Regions from separate parts of the Homo sapiens genome. Here region 1 is linked to region 2. The links are contacts of gene promoters, found by promoter capture Hi-C in blood cells and fetal thymus (Javierre and others, 2016). All regions are on one chromosome and are shown on one strand. Each heading gives the region's core, a stretch centred on a gene start or on the middle of the fragment in contact. The rest is flanking DNA. Distances are from core to core; before and after follow the strand shown.

What was found. Contacts are between HindIII fragments. The CHiCAGO score rates a contact against its expected background, and 5 or more counts as called.
Region 1: a contact is called between a fragment that was not itself captured here and the fragment with the promoter of CCSAP in region 2, in 1 of 17 cell types (neutrophils). The highest score is 6.7, in neutrophils.

The regions. Positions count from the first base shown.
Region 1 is chr1:222,619,664-222,627,550 of GRCh38, reverse strand. It overlaps MIA3 (MIA SH3 domain ER export factor 3), which reads right to left. Exons shown (of 28, transcript NM_198551.4): 2 at 6,259-6,392; 3 at 2,697-2,783. Among named protein-coding and RNA genes, the nearest start is that of MIA3, 5.5 kb to the right of the region's middle. The HindIII fragment of the contact is 873 bases long and covers 5,888-6,760 here.
Region 2 is chr1:229,337,009-229,344,592 of GRCh38, reverse strand. CCSAP (centriole, cilia and spindle associated protein) reads left to right here and starts at 1,546. Exons shown (of 4, transcript NM_145257.5): 1 at 1,546-1,681; 2 at 2,080-2,494. The coding sequence starts at 2,128. RefSeq lists silencers at 97-391, 1,238-2,097, 2,298-2,497. The HindIII fragment of the contact is 1,840 bases long and covers 1,083-2,922 here.

The DNA.
Region 1 (7,887 bases), core at 5,075-7,574, 6.7 Mb after region 2:
TCTGTCAATAGCCAAGTGTCACCAGAGCAAAGTCTTATCCACGTTAATGATTGAGATAATCTCGAATTCACGTTTGGCTCTAGAGGAGCTTTTGCGTCAACACTGGGCACTGACTGTTCTTGGGCAGTGGGTGGATAGGAGGCTGGAACCCACTTTCCCATCTGAGTAATACTCCTGGCTTCCCTTCATTCTCTCTTCCCCAGGGGAAGAATGATTCATGTGGCTGGTGAGTTTGCTCAGTCCCAATCCTGTTTTCTGTTTGGGACCTGCTGGAGAGGAAACACATATTCTGTTCCTCCATGCTGTCCGTTTTACAGGGACAGTCCCACCTGGGGAGACCCCTATTGGATAGCTCTGTCTGTGACTGGATAAGTCCATCTTAGTTTAGACCGCAATGTTAGAAAGCCCATTATTTCTGCATACTCCAAACAGCTTTATCAGTAAATAATGGGGTCATTTTGATCTCCTATTTGCCCAACTCCTGGGTCTCTCAATTTTGTTTTGAGCACAGGTGGGGAAAAGTAAGGTGTCATTTATTGGGTTCCCCAACTCCCATCATCTATGCCTGATGTTCTGGGAATTCACCTTATAACCCATCCAGGAGGAGCTGAAAGACCATCAGCTTCTCTACATTGTGCCCTCTATGTCATACTTCTCTGCTCACCCAGTCAGAAACAGGCAGAATCACCTGGCTGTCAGGCTCTCAGTCTACATGGATTTGGGGCTCATATTTTCCTTGGACTGGGAAAGAAATCAGCTTCAGAAGGAACTTACTGAGATACAGGTGCATGAGATATAAAAATGTAAGAGAACAAAGAATGGTGTAAAGGAGGCTCCCCATTTTCATACTGCCACAAGAACAACTTGAAAACAAGATTCAGTAAGGTAGGTACCTAACTCCAAATAAGGATTCTAGCCAGTCACTAAGATCTGCTTTCAGGACTGTCAAGTAAATCTGTATTTTTCCCTTCCTCCACCAGTAAGCAAATTGACATACAAGGAGCCATAAAATGATGGAAAAGTTAAAAAACCAACAAAGATAACTTTCTTCCCCTAACTAAACATTCACAATCTTCTGGTGAGAACTGTCCTGTGTACTGGAGATGAATGACTTCCCTCTTTCCATCATGCACACTTCTGAGCCAATTTTTTTAATATTAAGGGAATCATGCAGTGGGAACTACAATTAGTATACAGGTCAGGTCTCTGTGACCAATGAATTGCTGTCTCACACTCAAATCCCGGGCAGTCTCTTCATCAGGAGTGAAGCCAAACAGGCAATACGATTGACTATATAACCCCTGAGAGCGTCGAGAAATTTTAAGCATAGCAATAGCTCTGTGACTTCACTCTGCCAATCTCTTCTAAGAACTGCCCTAGCCCAGCAGCTTGCACGCTCTGCAGCAACTCCAAAGAGCTACTCAAAGACTTTTGAATGAAAGCAGACATCAATTACTATAAATTCTAAAACTCACAAAACAATCAGATGGGGGGCTGGGCATGGTGTTTTTTATATATATATATGAAAGGCAGCCTGTAATCCTAGCACTTTGGAAGGCCAAGGCAGATGGATCACTTGAGGTCAGGAGTTTGAGACCAGCCTGGCCAACACGGTGAAACCTCGTTCCTACTAAAAACACAAAAAAATTGGCTGGGTGTGGTGGCAGGCGCCTGTAATCCCAGCTACTCCAGAGGCTGAGGCAGGAGAATTGCTTGAACCTGGGAGGCGGAGGCTGCAGTGAGCTGGTATCGCACCACTGCACTCCAGCCTGGGCGGCAGAGAGAGACTCTGTCTCAAAAAAATAATAATCAGATGGAATGCAGATTCTAGAACACAAAATCCTTCTAGTCACGAAGCCATTGTGCACTATAGATAAATGCTCTACAGAATGTGTAGTTAGCGCCTTACAGATATGAGACTGGACCTCACCTGAAACTCTCTGGTTCCCTTTTCCAAATCTATAACTATAATCGCTTAAATCACTACAGAGTCAATAATAAGAAAACCTTTGTAAGTTTGCATTTCTGGCTCAGTATAAAATTAGAGCTTAATTAATTTAACCTGATTTCTATATCCTTAAAATGTCTAACAGCTATCCAATAAGTAGTTTTCAAATTTCTCCTTTTGCTTGTGAAATGAAATTTTTTGCCTTCTAACATTAATAAGTAAATATAAAACTACTGAACTCTTAATTTTTCACATATAAAGCAGCAAAGAAAAGCCTTGTATAAGAGTACACGGCCTTGGCCGGGCGCAGTGGCTCACGCATGTAATCCCAGCACTTTGGGAGGCTGAGGCGGGCGGATCATGAGGTCAGGAGATCGAGACCATCCTAACACAATGAAACCCCATCTCTACTAAAAATACAAAAAATTAGCCAGGCGTGGTGGTGGGCGCCTATAGTCCCAGCTACTTGGGAGGCTGAGGCAGGAGAATGGCGTGAACCCAGGAAGCAGAGCGTGCAGTGAGCCGAGATCACGCCACTCCACTCCAGCCTGGGTGACAGAGCGAGACTCCGACTCAAAAAAAAAAAAGAGTACATAGCCTTATATAAGAACATCTATTTCCATATATTAGATAACTATCAGATTATGATAAAATCTCATTTAAATTCTTTTGAAATTTTTCTTTTTTTCTAGGTAGTCACTTATAAGCCAACTTATAACTGAGAACAAGACAGAAATCCACAACTTACATCTGTTGGAACTTGTAGCTCTTCTTTGGTATATTCATGAACTACCTGGATTAAATCTTTTGGAAAATATCCAAAAGTGCGTCCAACCTACACAAAAGAATGGGCAAAAGGGACACATATCAATCAAATTCTGTATGAGAAATATGAACGATAGAGCTGCAAACCTCAATCTACAGCACATATCAAGCAATCAACTTTTTCTTGTAATGTCATTACTTTTCTCCGCTATTTGAGACCACTTCCAACATCACTAGTGACACTTTGTATGGGTCCCAGAGTGTTATTCAAGGTTTACAGTATTGCACTAAACACAAAAAATACATGAGAACCACAAGAGATCACTTTTTACTCACTGTACAATTTACTGGAGAGATGAACTGCTCACGTGGAAATGATTAGCGTCGCATGGCATTTTAAGTGGATACTCACAATACTTGAGCTCACTAGAATAGCAAGAGGAGGTGGCTACGAACTATTATAGTACAGTAGGTAGCACAATTAATTTATGCAATTATGATTTAATATTTTATCTTTACGTTTGTTTATATTTCTCTCGACTGCAAAAGGTGCCATGTAAGATCTGAGTTTGTGTGTGTACGTTTTGATAAACTGTAACTTTTTATACAGATTTGTGTATGTTTTATGGTAGTAAAGAATAAAATACACTAGGATCTACATATGGTTTACATGTCAATAACATACCTTTTTCTTAATTTTTTCAGTATTTCTAGGCTATGCGGTCTGAGAGTTTTTAACAAATTAATGCAAACCTCCACAAAATTTTACAATATATTTATTGAAAGAAATCTGCATTATAAGTGGACCCACACAGTTCAAACCTGTGTTGCCCAAGGATGAACTGTATTTGCACATATGATGTGCTATACTGCCATTTTCCAAAACGATATTACAGGTAACTGGAGACAAAACAAAATTACAGTGTAATACACACTAATCTGCCCACCAAGCTTTCATTTCATGCAAACCAAAATCTCTACAGAAAATAATTCCATTCATTTTCAGCACTAGTAAAATGTGCCCTCTTGAGAAACACACAGTCTTTTACTAGCTACTGTCTGAAAGGAGAGGTAGATCTCCCAATCATTAAAGGAGGAGGCTGGCATGTAAATCAAATGCACAAAAAGAAAAAAAGGCCATCTTATCACTAATTCATAAAACATCTCCATTCATGAGTGCTCTTGATCTGAAAACTATCTGAAAGCCAGTATTAGTAGTAAAATACTGCCATGGAGATTAGATAAGGGCAATTAAACTCTGTGTTATTGGCAGATCAAGTCTAAAATGCTAAGAAACCAAAAAAGACTGCAGAATGAAAACTAAGAAACAAATGAGAATCATTTTGAAAGCTGAAGACAGAGTTTTTAATTTCCTAAGAATAAGGTTCATCAAATTAGAGGGGAGACTATTTTAAGGGAGAACCTGGAAAAAGGAAACAAATCAGAGGTAGAGGTATATAGGGAAAGGGAAATACAATACATTTACCTTCCTTAATCTTTGTCAGTTGGGACCACAGGTGGCATCTCATTTCTTATGATTTGACCAAAAAAAAAACAAAAAAAAAAACATAGGCTCACATGACAAGAAAAAATCTTTATGTCTAATTTTGCTTTCATACATCATTTCTGCCAAGGTACTGTTGATTTCATTTGGGCGGGGGGTAGGAGGGAAAGTAGAGTATCGCCTTAAGAGAACAAATTCTGCATAAGATAATATCAGGACAAATATAAATAAATGCCACTGCCTCGTCAGGAAATACTGAAAAAGAAGACAGATAAGGCATGAGCCTTTCCATTAAAGAGTCTTTCACTTTACGTGAGCTAAGACAGTACACAAATTAACTGCCATACAAAGCAGTAAAGCAAATGCCACATGAACAGTGCAAACAAAGTGCCACCTAAACAATCATCAGGCAGCAAAGATCCCTTCTGGCTGGGTGCTGAAGGCAGCGTTCCTTAAGAAGGCAGGATGAGAGGTGTGACCCAGAAAGACTGACAGGACATCCAGAGATGAAGACGTGAATGAGCAAAACTGCAGTGGGAGGAAAATGTTAAGTCAAGTTCATTCATCCAAATGCTCAAAGATGAGGAGTGGAAAAAAAAACTTAACTTTTCTATGAAAAAACGCAGCCTAGGTACATGGAAAAACATTTCCAAGAGTAAAGATTATCAACAAATCTCATTAGGTAGACTTGAAGGAAATAGAATAGATTTGTTTTGGTATGGAGCAAGTCACTTGGGATGCTCTCTAAATAGGAGAGCTGAACCTGACCAGTTGTTGTTTCCCAAGATTACTCCCTAGGAACCTGGAATGCCAACAAAATCAGTCTATTTTCCCCAAGGGGATTTCTCAAGCCTTATTTTCTCTTTGTTTGTTTGGTGTTTTACTGACAGTGAAAACTTTCATAGTCGGGATGGGTATTTCTCTAAGTTGGGACAATCCTAAAGATATCGAGGACCCTTACTACTTGAAGTAAAGACACAGTCCACATATCACGCTTTCTAAAAAGGAAAGGACAATAACTCATAAGACAGGCCTCTCAATCAGGTCACTCCCAGTGAATCTCCTCATTAAAAATACCAAAGCATGATGCAGTCATTGATTGCCAGGTCTGATAGCAGGGTACCCATAAAATCAGCTGGGAATCAATCCCCTGGGGTAACCTCCAGACACAAGTGTCTGAAAAGCAGGACAAGGATGACCCCAAGGCTGCAAACAAAAATACAAACAAGAGGCTGGTTGCGGTGGCTCACGCCTGTAATCCCAGCACTTTGGGAGGTCAAGGTGGGTGGATCACAAGGTCAGGAGATCGAGACCTAGCTAACACAGTGAAACCCCGTCTCTACTAAAAAAATACAAAAAATTAGCCGTGTGGTGGCAGGCACCTGCAGCCCCAGCTACTCGGGAGGCTGAGGCAGGAGAATGGCGTGAACCCGGGAGGCGGAGCTTGCAGTGAGCCGAGATCGCGCCACGGCACTCCAGCCTGGGCGACAGAGCAAGACTCCGCCTCAAAAAAAAAAAAACAAACAAACAAGAAAGCACACGAGAAACAACATTTTGCTTTTTTACAGACTTATAATAGCACAGATGATTAGGGAACTGTTCCCAAGACTGCCACTTTTTCATAAATAATAATATAAACAAAGAAATACACATAAAATCAACTTTAAGCTTACATGCCTGAAACACTCTCTCACATATAGTTTACAGGAGTAAGTCTAATTCCTATGAATACTTCCTTTTTAAAGCAATGAAGTATTTTTCAGCTCTTACCATTTCAACCTCTAATACGTATGCAGCATCCTAGAGGTTGACCCTGAGGGGAACTTGCCAGAATCAGTTCTATTTCAGAAGGCTCTGCTGAGCCCCTACTCTGTGCAGACCCAAGGCCTGCTGGGGACACAGGGCCATCTTTTTTCACAGTCAGGCAGAGAGGACAAGTTAACTCCATCAAAGGTCCCAAGAAAATGCAGTCATTTAACTCTACAGTGCTAAAGAAGCCAATAAAAATTAAGCAAATAAAGTATGTCGATATTTTACTTACACTTCCAGCCCAAACTTCAGGCCATCCTCTTGCCAGTTTATAGTAAACATATACAGGATCACCTTTTTTAAAATTCACAAAACGACAATCCGGGCCTGTGAAATCTTCAAGAGCCTCACCGCGGTACATTAACACTGTATATAAAGAGAGAGAAAAAAAATAGCCAGATATCAGGATTCAGTGTTCACAGTGCATATTGATTTATCAGGAAATATAAGAATCCCACTATAAACAACAACCAAGTTTTTCCAGTACTCTCTGGAATTTCTTTCATATGCTCAAAGTATCTCAAATCCTTTGAGCTTTACTGCTATAAATCATACCTTCTGCAAGCAGACAAGGGAAAGGAAAACCTTCTCTATTTTTCTCTATGGATAATACTGAGAAACAAAAAGCAATGTGCCAACTACCACACATGGCTTTTCTCACCCAAGTGAAACTCTCGATTCCCTCTCTAACCTTCTAGTCCTCAATCTTTTCTGTTTCATATTCATAAAAAGCTTCCTTTTGCAAATGGGTAAATTCAAGCCCAGATGATGATTAACTTAAGCATGGCTACATGAACGGGTAATAGGGAACTAGAGTACCCAGGAACCCCCAAGAGGTCAATTAACTTGAACTAACCACTAAAAGGGTCTATCTTCAAGTGACTGTAACCAGTACTATGTAGCAGTAAACACTGTCAATTTCATTTGCAGCCAAGTTGTTCCCTTAGTACAGTGTCTGGATAAATTAATGGGAAAAGATATCTATCACACCCTACTATAGATTCAATTACATCACAAGGCAATATTTTCTGAAAGTAAATAATGTTGACTGTATCCAAAATTAAGTTTCAAAACAAAGGAAAGAATACCCTTATGTATATTTTTCTATAAACAAAATCAAAAGTCGACATCTCATTTGGCTGGGACTAAGCAAAACTATGAGAATAGGTCAGTAATTCAATCACGCTTGATCTAGAAACTGGCTGAAGCAGTACTTTTATTTTTGTTGACCACATACACAGTTTCCCATGTAAGATGAAATGGACAATAAATACATCTAAATAGCAGAGACAAAGAAGGACGAATAGAAATAAGATTTTTTCCAAAAGCCAATTTGCAATAAAATACATTAAAAACGTGCCTTTAAATGGCTATACACGCATATAGATTTGGAAGGGGCTACTTGTTTTTTGAAGCTAAACTCTGATTACTTTCCAACATGTCAGCTTTGTAGCTCAGATATAATTGAGTGTGAGGCCAGGTTTAAGATGATGGACAATTTAAGGTTGGGAATAAGATCAGAATTGAAAATGGCAATGTTTCTTTTGCTCCCCCTTACAATAGATCATAGAGGATTTATAATAATATTTGAGATGCCAACAAAATGCACCCTGTGGAACAGCTATTTGAAAACCACACAAGGGCACCGTACATACTCACATTACTAAACACTTTCTACAACACAACACAGACCCATCTAGACCTTGCTCCTGTTGATGCCTATTGTATTTGGTTTCCTCTGAACACGTACCATTTCTCAAGTTATGTTACAACCGTGAGCTCTTCTAACATCATGCCTCAGTACTGAAGAAGCATCAGTGATGTGATGATTCTCCAGGTAACCTGTTTTGAGGAACCCAGG
Region 2 (7,584 bases), core at 297-2,796:
AGCCAGCTTAAACAAAAGGAAAGTGCATTAGAATGTCCCTAATGTAAGTCAAGGAACAGAAAATAAAGTTGGGAAGGGGAGAAATCATGGCGTCCGCGGACTCATTAGCAGCAGGGTATCCTGGAGTTTCCGTCCAGAAAACTGCCATTAACACAATCCCGTGCTAATGATTGGACTAGTAACTTCAAGTTTTCAGAGCAGACGGTCTGACCCGCCCCATTTGGGCCAGTAGCCGCCTCTGAATCATTTAGCTATGATGAGGTGGGCGGTGGTGGTGGGAGGCAGGATGCGGACACGTAGAAAGTAGGTGAATTCGTGGGAATCCTGACGTGGAAGCCGTGAGCGCTACTCACGGCCTGGGCTTGCTTTTTAACTGCTATATATATATTTAGATTTTCCAAAAGTTTTTTCCTTTCAAATCTTTTTGCAGCTACTGTATCAAGGCTCTTTTTTTAAGAAAGGGAAAATAGTGCAGGACCACTTCTGAAACTGTAACAAATGGGGCAACGTTGTATTCTTCTGTACAATGTAACTGGATCTGTGAAGGTTTTTATTTTTTATTTTTTATTTTTTTTGAGACGGAGTCTTGCTCTGTCGCCCAGGCTGGAGTGCAGTGGCGCAATCTAGGCTCACTGCAAGCTCCGCCTCCCGGGTTCACGCCATTCTCCTGCCTCAGGCTCCCGAGTAGCTGGGACTACAGCCGTTCACCACCACGCCGGGCTAATTCTTTTTATTTTTATTTTTTTAGTAGAGATGGGGTTTCACTGTGTTAGCCAGGATGGTCTCGATCTCCTGACCTCGTGAGCCACCCGCCTCGGCCTCCCAAAATGCTGGGATTACAGGCGTGAGCCACAGCGCTCAGCCGGATCTGTGGAGGTTTTATGAGCAAAAAGGGAAAACAGTGCGGGGCCACTTTTGAAACTGTAACAAATGGGGCAACGTTGTATACTTCTGCACAAAGTAACTGGATCTGTGAAGGTTTTATGTGTAAAAAGGGAAAAGAGTGTGGGGCCACTTTTGAAACTGTAACAAATGGGACAACTTTGTATACTTCTGCACAACGTAAGTTAATCTGTCAAGCTTTTATGTGCAAACGAATCTCTGAGCGAGTGAAATGGTTTTGATCAAAATCTAAAAGAATTTGGGGAGTGTAGATATAAAAGGGAGTTAAAGCCAGAGTAACAGGTGTTGTGAACACAGAGAGGAAGAACCGGTAGGTTTCGAGTGAGGACAGAGAGTGTCGCCCCCGGCCGCAGCCTGGGGGGGCTGCATATCTGGAGGGATCATCTCTTGCCCCTAACTGACGACTCCTGCAGAGTGACGCGTGCCTGGGACAGCGTCTGCTGGGACCAGGGTGGACGGGCACCTCAAATAAGTGGGCCAGGGACCTGGGCCTGGGCCCCTCGGACTGGCAGGCACGCCCGCACCCCCGCGCCTCGCGCTCTCTACGGAAGCAGCCGCCCCCACGGAGCGGGCGGAGGCCCGGGGGCCGGGAGCGCGCGTGGAGGCTCCGGGACTGAGGCGGCGCCACCGCCTCCCGCCTGCAGCTGGAGCGCGGGCCGCCGCGGCGACATCTTGCTCAGGAGGAAAGCGCGCGGGAGAGCGAGCTGCGCTTTAGCTGCTGCGCCACGCGCGCCTCGGGCCTGGGCGCAGAGGATCGGCCGGGCGCGGCGGGAAGGAGGTAAGGCAGCCCCGCGGGACCGCACGCCTAGCTCAGGGGACGCCTCCGGAGACCCCAGGACCACCCGATCACGGGCCCCGCCGCTCCCCTCCCTCGCTCCTCCTCCCGCTCAGCCCCAGTCTCCTGCGGTCCCCTCGCCCCAGCCCGCAGCCTCCCTGCCTTCCGCCCACTGAGCAGCCCTCCTCGGCGGCGCGCCCCTCGACCCCAGCAGCCCCGGTCCCCGCCTCTGCTCTTGGTCCCGGCCGCCGGGTGAGGCCGCCCCCGCCCCGCCCCCTCCCCGCCCTCGCCGGGACCCGCCCCCTGCTCCCGTCCGGGCGGGGCTCCGGGTTTAAACGTCGCGGCGGGCAGGGCCGGCGGAGGGGCGGGGCGGCCTCTGTGTCGTGTACCGGGTCCCGTAGGCTGCGGGCAGCGAGGAGCGGCTGGCGCTCGAGGCGGCGGACGGCACCATGTCCCCGGGGAGCGGGGTGAAGAGCGAGTACATGAAGCGCTACCAGGAGCCGCGCTGGGAGGAGTACGGGCCGTGCTACCGCGAGCTGCTGCACTACCGCCTAGGCCGCCGGCTGCTGGAGCAGGCGCACGCGCCCTGGCTCTGGGACGACTGGGGCCCGGCCGGCTCCTCGGAGGACTCGGCGTCGTCAGAGTCGTCGGGCGCCGGGGGCCCCGCACCCCGGTGCGCCCCGCCCTCGCCCCCGCCGCCCGTAGAGCCGGCGACCCAGGAGGAGGCGGAACGGCGGGCGCGCGGGGCCCCGGAGGAGCAGGACGCGGAGGCCGGGGACGCGGAGGCCGAGGACGCGGAGGACGCGGCTCTGCCAGGTACCCGGCCCGGAGGGGAGCGCGAGGGGCCTGCACGCAGGGACGGTTTGCTCTAAGCTCTGAGCAGCTGATCTCTTATTTCTTGCGCCACTCGGGGCTGGCTCTTCCTTTTTTTTTTTTCGGTTGACAGAATCCGTCTCTCTTGACAAAATAGGGAAGGTGGCAGCCTTTGCCACCCTTTATTTCCTTAATTAGGTGGCTTTCGGTCGAGCCAGCGGTGAACTCAATTGAAGCGCCGCTGGCTGAGTCTGGGGTCTTTCCTCGCGGGCCTCTGCGGCTTGGCAAACCTCTGAATCCCATCTTATTTCTTGGCGAACCACTGAGTCCCATCTGCTTATTTCTAGGCGCCCATTTTTGATCAGAGGAGCCCCAGCTTTAATCAGATTCTCAAAGGTAACCCAAAAGGTTAAGAACCACAGAGCTAAGCTTTGTCTGATGAATGGGGCCATTGTTTTCCGTATTAACTCCCCGACCTCGCTACGCTGTCCCTAAAGAATATTTTGCATTTGTTTACGTGGAGTGTTGAATAACTTGGCTGTGAGAGCATCTTTATAAGTGCTAGGGCCTCTCCCCTTCCGTCCCTCCCCATCCTCCCTCGCCTGTCCAGATCCGAAAGCGCCGGTGGCGCTGCGCGTGTTTTCAAGGCATGGCCCCTTCACCTTCTTTCCTGCCCAGAGGCTTGCAGGGCTGGGGACCCAGTTGAACGCCTCAGTACAGCCTGGAGTAACCAATGGTTCCTTCCAGATCACTGGATTTTAAAAAGGCTCGAGTGAGGAAAACATGGAAAATGTATTGGGAGCCTGTTAGACATTCAGTCACTGATCTGGGAATATGTATGTTGTCATTTAATATTCAAAACAATCCCAAAAGAGACCATGTTGTAATCTTTTTTTTTTTTTTTTTTTGAGACGGAGTCTCGCTCTGTGGCCCAGGCTGGAGCGCAGTGGCGCGATCTCGGCTCACTGCAACCTCTGCCTCCCGGATTCACGTCATTCTCCTGCCTCAGCCTCCCGAGTAGCTGGGATTACAGGCACGCGCCACCACGCCCGGCTAATTTTTGTATTTTTAGTGGAGACGGGGTTTCACCATGTTGGTCAGGCTGGTCTCAAACTCCTCACCTCGTGATCCGCCCGCCTCGGCCTCCCAAAGTGTTGGGATTACAGGAGTGAGCCACCATGCCCGGCCCTAATCTCAGTTTTATAGATGAAAAAACGGAAGCTCAGGATCAGTGACTTTATTCATTTATGTGTTTATTTTTGTTTACCCGATTGCAAGCCAATCAGACTCTTCCTGGCTTCTCTGTGAGAGGCTGAGGAGGAGATGAAATTTCGGCTATGAGCCGGGTTGCTTTGCTCTTGGTTTTACCATCTTCAGCTATTTTCAGCTCATCATCGGAGGCAGGGCTGCCTCCTCCCATCATGATGTTACTTGTGAATCCCCACAAATCCTGATGCTTCAGTGATCACTGCTAGAAATGCAAATAACAGAAGGTGGAGGGGGTAGGGAACATGCCTTCCAGATTATTCCTGTGGGTACTGATCTGCTAGCTAAATTGAGATGTACTTTATCAGGCTAAATGGCTTTTCTCTCCCCGATCTTTTATTGTTTGTGATGGAGTTGTCAAATATTTGCATGCAATATAAATACAATTTTTAGGCAGCGTTGTGATATGGATGGTGCCTGTATTTACCAGCTCAGGTAAGCTCTGAGTTCATGATTATTTTGGTTTCCTTAAATATAGCGTCCTCTCAGTTATTTCTTCCCTGCTAACGTTTCTGGTTTAGGCATCAGGAAGAAGAAAGGATGTTTTCTGCTTTCAGGACTCAATCGCAGCATCTTTTGTTTTGCTCCTACCCGTAAGGCCCTCTTGACTCCTGTGTTGCTTGCACAAGATTAAATATCCTGGTTTTTAAGTGGATGGTTTTAAATACTAGTGCAATGAGCACTCTTTTGAGTTTCTATAAAATATAAAATTTTTTACTTTCCCTGAAGCCATAGATGCACATAGAATCACGTAGTTCTGTCTGACTTATTACAAAAGCACATCAGCCCTATGCCATACATAACACCCTGGTTTTTCCTTTGGTATTTATTTCTGTATCTCCAAGTAACATGGCTTTTATTGACATGTGATTGTTTTTTTTCAGTTTTTAACATTATCTATTGACTTTAATTCTTTTTTACTGCTCTCCTCACCCACACACACACGGCCCATCTCCACACCTGCACAATACAGTCCTCATAGAGTTTGTTGGATTCATAATTAGTATGTACCGTATTGTGCCCATGGAAAAAGTTACTCAAAGCTGACCCATACTATTTCCCATGATTCCCTTTTTTCTTTCACAATACAACCAACACATCAGGTTCACTATCACTCTTGTCATCTTAAGATGCCTCTCCCAGGGCCCCTGACCTACTTCTGTCTGGGCTGGCTGCTGCTCCTGTGGGCTGCTGCCTGGCTGGCATCTTGGGAGGGCCCTTGGCCATCCTCCTAGGACCTTTCTTGGCTTCTCTCTTGGGTTTGAGTCTCTGTCGTGTGCCTTTCATGTCATTTTCTTTCTTGGTTTACCCCTTCTTGGTGGAGCACATCTTCTAGTAGATTCCCAAGAAAGGATGGTTCAGAGGTTAGCTTTCTTTGAATGCCAAGAGATAGCTTTATTCTACCCTTACAATTTGGTGAGTGTGGCTGGGCATGGAATTCTAGGTTGGAACAGTTGTCCGTAGAAACTCTGGGGGCATTCCTCCTTATGTGTTATGACTGCTGATGTTACAGCCTGCCTCGTTATGATTCTTGATCTTGATCTTTTGTAGGTAATGTGTTGCCCTCAGGAAGCTTTCACGGTCTTCTCTTTGGCCTTTATGTTCTGACATTTTTCCTTGATCTAGATCTGTTTTCCTTTGCTTTGCTGGGCACTTGGCAGGTCTTTATAGACAAACTCATGTTTTTAATTCCCGGAAGTTTTCTGGAATTATTTTCTTATTTCTGTTTTTTTTTTTTTTCCCATTTCTTTTTTTTCTGAAGTCCTTAGTTGGATATTAGACTTTATCATTTTATCCTCTAATTTTCTAAGTTTTTTCTTGACAGATTTTCATCTTTTATTGTTTTGTTTTCTGGGTGATACTCTCAGCTGTATCTTCTAAATCTCTTATTACATTTTCCATTTGAGGGATCCTATTTTTCTTTTAAATGTAAGAGCTCTTGAATTGTTTTCTGGGCTGCCATTTATTCCCTCCCTTACCTCCCTCCTTTCCGTCCCTTTTTATTTCTTTTTACAACACAGTATCTGGTTCCTGATTGATGCATGTAGGGTTTTATCTTACTGAGGATATATATTAGAATTTTTCGTTTGTTTTCTTCTCTTTCTGTGTTTCTTCAGCACAATCTTTCACTTCTGCCTCTTTGTTTCTTTTTGCTGGTAATTCTCTATTTTCATGTTAGGCACTTTTCTCAAATGTCTAATGATCCTTCGTTTCTCATTCTTATTTAAGGGATGGATACTAAAAAGCTGTTAGGAAATTCTGTGTGTGTGTGTGTGTGTGTGTGTGTGTGTGTGTGTTGGGGTTTGGGGGTGGAAGTGCTTGTGAACCGTGAGATTCTTTTCCTCCCATAGCCAATATGCTATGAAGAGTGGTCTAGACTGTCTCCGATTCCTTACTTCATAGTCACGTTTTCTTTTTAGGTTAGATTTTATTTTTAGCAAAGTTTACATGTGCAGTAATTTAAAACATTTTGCTTAAAATGAAAAAAACATGATCCTGCCCCATTTCCCACCCATGCCCCTTGCTCCTTTCACTCAGTTTCGCTTTCCTTTCAGCATTGGCCACCCTCTTTTTATTTAATCTTATCTGTTGGCTTTTTGATTGTGAACATTATCTACTGACTTCCCATTATGGGAGATGAAGATTTAGCTCAGGATCTTAGCTCTGCCTTCCCTATTCTACCCCCAGACACATACCAACACCCATTTCCTCTTCTCCATATCCCCACAATATTAACTATATGATTGCTTTGTTTAATCTCTGTTCTGTGTTTGAATTATGGCTGTGTAGATATTTGCAGGTGAGCCATGTAATATATTCTGATTACATTTTTTTGTTAAAATTTATGGTTTTCCTGAAATTGATAATTGTTCCACTTTTTTGTTTGCTTATTTTGTTTTTGTTTTTTGCTTCTACTCCAGTAATAGGTTTATTAAAAAATAAGCTACCTATCACTGCCTATCACAGTTTCTTATTTCTTATTTATTTTAGCTATCACTAATGCCTGAAATGGCCTGATAGTACTATGAAACTTGCCATTTGTCAGACATATTAGGTATTCTATTCATCTGATTTTTTTTTTCCCTTGGAGACACGCACACACACATATATATATACATATATATATATGTATGTGTATATATATATATATATATATTTTTTTTTGAGCCTTTGATCTTGTTCCAGTCTAGATTTTATGCTGTCCAGCCTTGGCACAGCTGCTGAACTGGGCTTTCTTTATTATTTCCCTCCTTTGTGTGATCCCCTGCCTTGCACATCTCAAGTCTTCCTTTTGCTTGGCCTGTTCCTTCCTTTTGATGGAACACATCCTCTATAGATCCTGTAAAATATTGCGTGGGAATTAGAAATTTTGTAACCTTGCATATCTGAAAATGCCTTTATTATATCCAGGATTGATATTTTGGCAAGGTAGATTAGTCTAGATTGGAAACCTCAGCATTTGAGGCATTATGATAACACTGAATCCTAGCTTCAGGTCATAGTGTTGAGAAGGACCATGCCATTCTGACACCTGCTTTGTGTGTGTGACCCCCCTATGTTTGTTTTTGTTGTTTTGTTGGAAACTTTTAGGAGATTCTTTATATCTTTTTAGGAGGTGTTCTGAAATTTTGTGGTGTGCCTGTGTGTGTCTTTTTTCATTCATTTGGCTGGCCTTTTTCATTCTGGAAGGTTCTTTCAGTTCAGTGATATTTCCTATTTTTCTGTTTAAAAATAATTTTCTCTGCTCCATATGCTTTATTTTCTCTTTCTATAATTATCCTTAGTTGGATGGTGTGCCTCCTGGATCAGTCCCCTAACATTTTTAC